Linked DNA regions of Homo sapiens: region 2 is linked to region 1. The links are contacts of gene promoters, found by promoter capture Hi-C in human tissues and cell types (Jung and others, 2019). All regions are on one chromosome and are shown on one strand. Each heading gives the region's core, a stretch centred on a gene start or on the middle of the fragment in contact. The rest is flanking DNA. Distances are from core to core; before and after follow the strand shown. Region 1 holds the start of SLC6A16 (solute carrier family 6 member 16). Region 2 overlaps KASH5 (KASH domain containing 5).

Region 1 (2,973 bases), core at 131-2,630:
AAAGATTGAATGATTCCCAAAGATTGTGATGAATTCTTACAGCACCCCCAAAATTTCCTCTTCATCTCTTTGTTCAATCATAACAATTTAAGCCTTTCATTCTCAAAGTGTGGCTCAGGGACTCCTGGGGGCTCTTGAAACACTTTTGGGGGTCCATGAGGTGAACATTATTTTCATAATACTACTAAGATATTATTTGCCTTTCACTTTCATTTCCTCTTTGAATATAGTGATGTTTGCCAGAAGCTACAAGACATGAGCTATTTTGACACACTCAGTGCAGAAGCAGATATGAGAATCCAGCTGTCTTCTATGAAGCCAGACATTAGAGAGATTTGCAAAAATGTAAAATGATGCCATTCTTCTCCCCAAATTTTTTCTTTTTTTTCCTTTTTTTTTTTGAGACGGAGTCTTGCTCTGTTGTCTAGGCTGGAGTGCAGTGGCAAAATCTCGGCTCATTGCAACCTCTGCCTCCTGGGTTCCAACGATTCTCCTGCCTCAGGCTCCCGAGTAGCTGGGATTACAGGTGTGTGCCACCACGCCCGGCTAATTTTTTTTTTTTTTGACTTTTAGTAGAGACGGGGTTTCATCATGTTGGCCAAGCTAGTCTCGAACTCCTGACCTCGTGATCCACCCGCCTTGGCCTCCCAAAGTGCTGGGATTACAGGCGTCAGCCACCGCGCCCAGCGCCAAAATTTCTTTTGGAGTAGAAATTATAGTTATTTTAAATAAAAATGTTATTTTGACACATAATGAATTTTTAAACAATGACTATTTTAGAAATTTATTTTAATATTGATAGATACAACTCACATAAACATACAACCCATATAAATGTAACTCATAAATTATTGGAGTCCTTAATAATTCTTAAGAGACCGGAAAGTATGAGAACGGATGACCTAAGTAAATCTTTGAGTTTTTAATTCTTGTCTGCAGCCCTAGTAGGCTTCTGAGCTCTCTTAAGGCAACGTCCCTGTCTGCCTTGTTGGACGCATATTTAAGGTTTGGTTTCTAGTAGGCGATCTTTAAGTAAATGCGAAAGGTTTGAAGGCTAGAAGGAATGAATGAGACGATTCTCCCACTTCCTACCCTCTTCTTCCTTACATGAAGTGGAAGCAAAGTGCATGTGCCAGAGAAAGGCCTTGTCTTAGAGCCCCGCCTGAAGCGTGGCATCGTGGGTGTCGGGGTGGGGTGCGGTGGGGAAGGGAGTGGCGCGTGAGCAGTCAGAGGATGTGCACACGTGCGTGCGTGTGGGGAGAGAGCAGGGAGTTGGGGAGGGCGAAGTGGTTACAGTGTTTGCTACAGCTGTAGGGAAAGAGTGAGGGGGCGCGGCGGCGCATGCGCAGAGAATCGGCGGGAAAGGCCGCGCGCCAGGCAGATCGAGGGGTGTCGCCCAAACCGATCTGTCGACGCCTGAAGGGGCCTGAGGAGATTGCTAGGCTTCTCAGCTGGGGCTTCTTCACCCTCATTTTTGTCCGACTGGCTGGACTGAAGAACCTGGCAGAAGCCTTGGGGCTAGGGTGAGGGTCACGGCCCAGGGAGCCCTAAAATGTTCCCACATCTGGGGTGTGTGGGGCTGGGCGCCATTTTCGAGGCCCGGGCCCACTGGGCTCCACTGACGGGTGACAGGTGACTGGCTGGGAGCCTCCTGGTTGCCCTGGGCTCTGTGGAGCTGAGGGATCAAAGGGGTCCCTCCTTTACCCCCCACGTAGGACAGAGGAAACTGTCTTCGGCTCTCCTCACTCATCCAGTCCGAGTTTGAGCCAATTCCTTGACAGGATTCGGCCATCAGTCCCTGCCTTTGGGGAAAGCCATCAGTGTCAAGTGCCCGAGTGGCAGAAACCCGGGTCTAGCCCCATCACTGGTCTGTTAGGGCAGTTATTTTCTGCTTTTTGCAGAAATGGGACACCAGCTCCTTATTTTCCTTTTCTGGAGGTTATAGTTCCAGGGAAGGAGGTAATGTGAGGGGAATGGGCATTTCTGGGGGATCCTGAGCACTCCCCACAGGGCATGAGCCTAGGAGTTGCTTGGGATGACGGTGTAGGGGCACCATGGAGGGTTGCACCCATATGGGAAGAGGAGTCCGCCTGGGGCTCAAGGGGCTTTATGGATGTTGGAAGTGGCCAGCTGGCCAAAACTCAGTTCTCTCCCTTCCGTAAAGCTTGCTTTTAAGGACAACTGTTCTAGAATGTGTTTAAGAAACATGAATCTATTATTTTTTATTTATTTATTTATTTGAGATGGAGTCCCACTCTGTCACCCAGGCTGGAGTGCAGTGGCACGATCTCAGCTCACTGCAACCTCTGCTTCCCAGGTTCAAGCGATTCTCCTGCCTCAGCCTCCCAAGTAGCTGGGACTATAGGCGTGCGCCACCACCCCCAGCTAATTTTTTGTATTTTTAGTAGAAACGGGGTTTCACTGTGTTGGCCTGGCTGGTCTCGAGCTCCTGACCTCAGCCGATCCACCCGCCTCAGCTTCCTAAAGTGCTGAGATTACAGGTGTGAACCCCCGTGCCCAGCCTATTATTATTATTTTTAAGAGACAGGGTCTCTCTCTGTCTCCCAGGCTGGAGTCCAGTGGCATGATCACCTCTCACTACAGCCTCGAACTTCTGGGCTCAAGCAATCCTTCCACCTCAGCCTTTCAAAGAGCTGGGATTACAGGCTGAGCCACTGGAGGCTTGGTTTTCACTTATTTTGGGTGTATACCCAGAAGTGGAATTGCTGGATCATATGGTAATTCTATTTTTAAGTTTTTGAGGAACCACCATAGTGTTTTCCATGGTGGTTGCACCATTTTACATTCTGACCAGCAAGGCACAAGGATTCCAATTTCTCCACATCCTCACCAACACTTCTTATTTTCTGCCTTTTTATATTAGCCATCCTAATGGATGCGAGGTATTATCTCATTGTAGTTTTCATTTGCATTTCCTTAATGATTAGTGACGTTGAACATCTTTTCATGTAC
Region 2 (2,973 bases), core at 331-2,830, 76 kb before region 1:
CTGCCAGGGGGCTTCAGGGAAAGTTTTTCATTTTTAAAAATTTTTTTTGAGACAGAGTCTCGCTCTGTCACCCAGGCTAGAATGCGGTGGCACAATCTCAGCTCGCTGCAACCTCTGCCTCCTGGGTTCAAGTGATTCTCCTGCCTCAGCCTCTCAAGTAGCTGGGATTACAGACGCCTGCCACCACGCCTGGCTAATTTTTATATTTTTAGTAGAGGTGGGGTTTCACCATGTTGGTCAGGCTGGTTTCGAACTCCTGACCTCAAATGATCCACCCATCTCGGCCTCCCAAGATGCTGGGATTACAAGCGTGAGCCACTGTGCCTGGCCTTTCATTCTTTTATTTACTTTTTTTGTTTTTTTTTGTTTTATAGAGACGGGCTCTCACTATGTTGCCTAGGTTGGTCTCGAACTCCTGGCCTAGGCAATCTTGCTTTGGCCTCCCAAAGTGTTGGGATTACAGGTGTGAGCCACCATGCCCAGCCGGAAAGTTTTTCTTTTCCTTTTTTTTTTGAGACTGAGTCTTGCTCTGTCGCCCAGACTGGAGTACACTGGTACCATCTTGGCTCACTGCAACCTCTGCCTCCTGGGTTCAAGCGATTCTCCTGCCTCAGCCTCCCGAGTAGCTGGGATTACAGGTGTGTGCCACCACACCCGGCTGATTTTTTTATTTTTAGTAGAGATGGGGCTTCACCGTGTTGGCCAGGCTGGTCTCGAACTCCTGATCTCAGGTGATCCACCCACCTCGGCCTCCCAAAGTGCTGGGATTACAGGCGTGAGCCACTGCGCCTGGCAACTTTTTCATTCTTAAAAAGGGATGTTCTGAAAGAAACTGTCACATCCTGCTGCATTCCATGTCTCACATGGTACAGCCATCCTGCTGTGAGATTCCCATTGCCCCAAGGGGGTGAGTTTTCATGGAAGAGCCAGAAAATAGCAGAAAGATTTTGGATTTCAGTGTAAAAAACACTGCACATGTAGGACAAAGATATTTTTTGGGAATACATGATCTGTCTGGACTAGGCAGAGATCCTTAGAGCTGGGGGAGGAATGCAGGACAGACAGAGAAGAGAATAGGCTGAAAATGAGCCCAGAGTTTTCCCCTAACCCAGGGCTAGCTATGAGGGGTGGAGGGTATGGATGGAGAACCGCAGAGCCCTGGAAGTCTTGTGATCTGAGAGGCCTTGCGTGTACTTCCCAGAGCACTCTCAGAATCATCACGGTGTGAGAATAATAGAGATGCTACTTTCTTGTGAAAGCAAAGAGGCCTCACTGGTGGGTCCTCTCCAGACCTCTGCCCACCCCAGCCCTGTGTCCTCCAGTCTGTCAAGGCCTGGGTGGGGTTTGGGATCCTTCAGGGAAATGAGTGACGGACAGGGACTTTGCTAACAGCTCAGGGAGAACAGAGGAATCTCTCTCCTGTTTCTCTTTCCCCAGAGAAGCCACATCTCCCCACCATGAGCACCCACCCTGGCCTGGGGAAATGAGGCAGGGGCTTTGGGCAGTGACCCCAGCCTCTTCCCTTTCACAGGAAAGTAGCCAAATCACCTCCCTGGCTCTGGAAGGGTGTGGAAGTGGTGGAGTAAGAGTCCCAGCCCAGATAAGGGATCACCACCAGAAGATGAAGAAGATGGTATGTCCAGAGATCCAAAGGCAATGCGGGCCTCACAGTAGATGCCAGCACACAGTGGTGACAAACGCTTGGACAAAACCCATCAATCTCATGAACAGCAGAGAGGAGAAACATTGAGTGAGGATCAGCAGCCTCCTAGAGCACTAGGCTCCTGCATCAGTCTCCTGCAACTTAGATACCACCTTGAGGTCGGGGGTGGTGACAGGTTTCATTGTCAATTGATGAGTTTGTTTCAATCTAAAAAAAATTAGGTGGGCCCAGAATGAACTAAGATGATGTTTTTCTGTCTTGGATGGAACGGGGCTTGAATTAAATGTGAAGCTGAACTCAGTCTCTTCATATTGTTTGCTAGTCCCTCAGTGAAATGCTGTCAATCCTCAAAACAAGCCTACTGAACAGATACCCTTCTTCCAGTTCTTTGAAAATAAAAGTAGGTCAGGTGTGGTGGCTCATGTCTGTAATCCCAGCATTTTGGGAGGCTGAGGTGGGCAGATCACCTGAGGTCGGGAGTTTGAGACCAGCCTGACCAACATGGAAAAACCCCGTCTCTACTAAAACAAACAAACCAACCAACCAACAAAAAAACAAAATTAGCCAGGTGTGGTGGCACATGCCTGTAATCCCAGCTACTTGGGAGGCTGAGGCAGAAGAATCACTTGAACCGGGAGACGGTGGTTGCCATGAGGTAAGATCGCGCCATTCCACTCCAGCCTGGGCAACAAGAATGAAACTCTGTCTCAAAAAAAAAAAAAAGAAAAAAAAAAAAAAGAAACTAAAAGTAAAGGCTTGAGAAGGAGAAGTCACATGCTTAAAGGTTGCCTATTGTGTAAGTGGCGGAGATGGGATTTGAACTCAAGGTTGACTTCAAATCCAATTTTTTTTTTTTTTTTTTTTTTGAGAGGCTCTCGCTCTGTCATCCAGGCTGGAATGCCATGATGCAATCTTGGCTCACTGCAACCTCTGTCTCCCGGGCTCGTGCAGTCTTTCCACCTCAGCCTCCTGAGTGGCTGGACTACAGGTGCACACTACCATGCCTGGCTTATTTTTCTATTTTTTGTAGAGGCAAGGTTTTGCCATGTTGCCCGGGATGGTCTCGAACTCCTAGGCTAAAGGGGTCCACCCAGCTAGGCCTCCCGAAGTGCTGGGATTCCAGGCATGAGCCACTGTGCCTGGCTGTTTTATTCACTGTAAAAAATACTAATATAGAAACAATGCTAGATAACTTTTAGTGAGCACATCCTATGTGTCCTACCTTGTGCCCAAGACTTTGCAAGTATCCTTCGGTTGAAGTCTCACACAAACCACTGAGGCAGATGCCATTGTTTTGTTCATCTTTATAG

The links. The method cuts DNA at HindIII sites, captures the fragments that hold promoters and counts their contacts. A contact is called where the count stands out against the background at its distance.
Region 2: a fragment that was not itself captured here is called in contact with the fragment with the promoter of SLC6A16 in region 1 in 2 of the 25 tissues and cell types used here (bladder and heart right ventricle).

Annotation. Positions count from the first base shown.
Region 1 is chr19:49,323,598-49,326,570 of GRCh38, reverse strand. SLC6A16 (solute carrier family 6 member 16) reads left to right here and starts at 1,380. Exons shown (of 12, transcript NM_014037.3): 1 at 1,380-1,523. RefSeq lists an enhancer at 67-216. The HindIII fragment of the contact is 19,669 bases long and covers 1-2,725 here.
Region 2 is chr19:49,399,782-49,402,754 of GRCh38, reverse strand. All of the region lies in intron 9 of KASH5 (KASH domain containing 5), which reads right to left. Among named protein-coding and RNA genes, the nearest start is that of KASH5, 13 kb to the right of the region's middle. The HindIII fragment of the contact is 8,336 bases long and covers 1-2,973 here.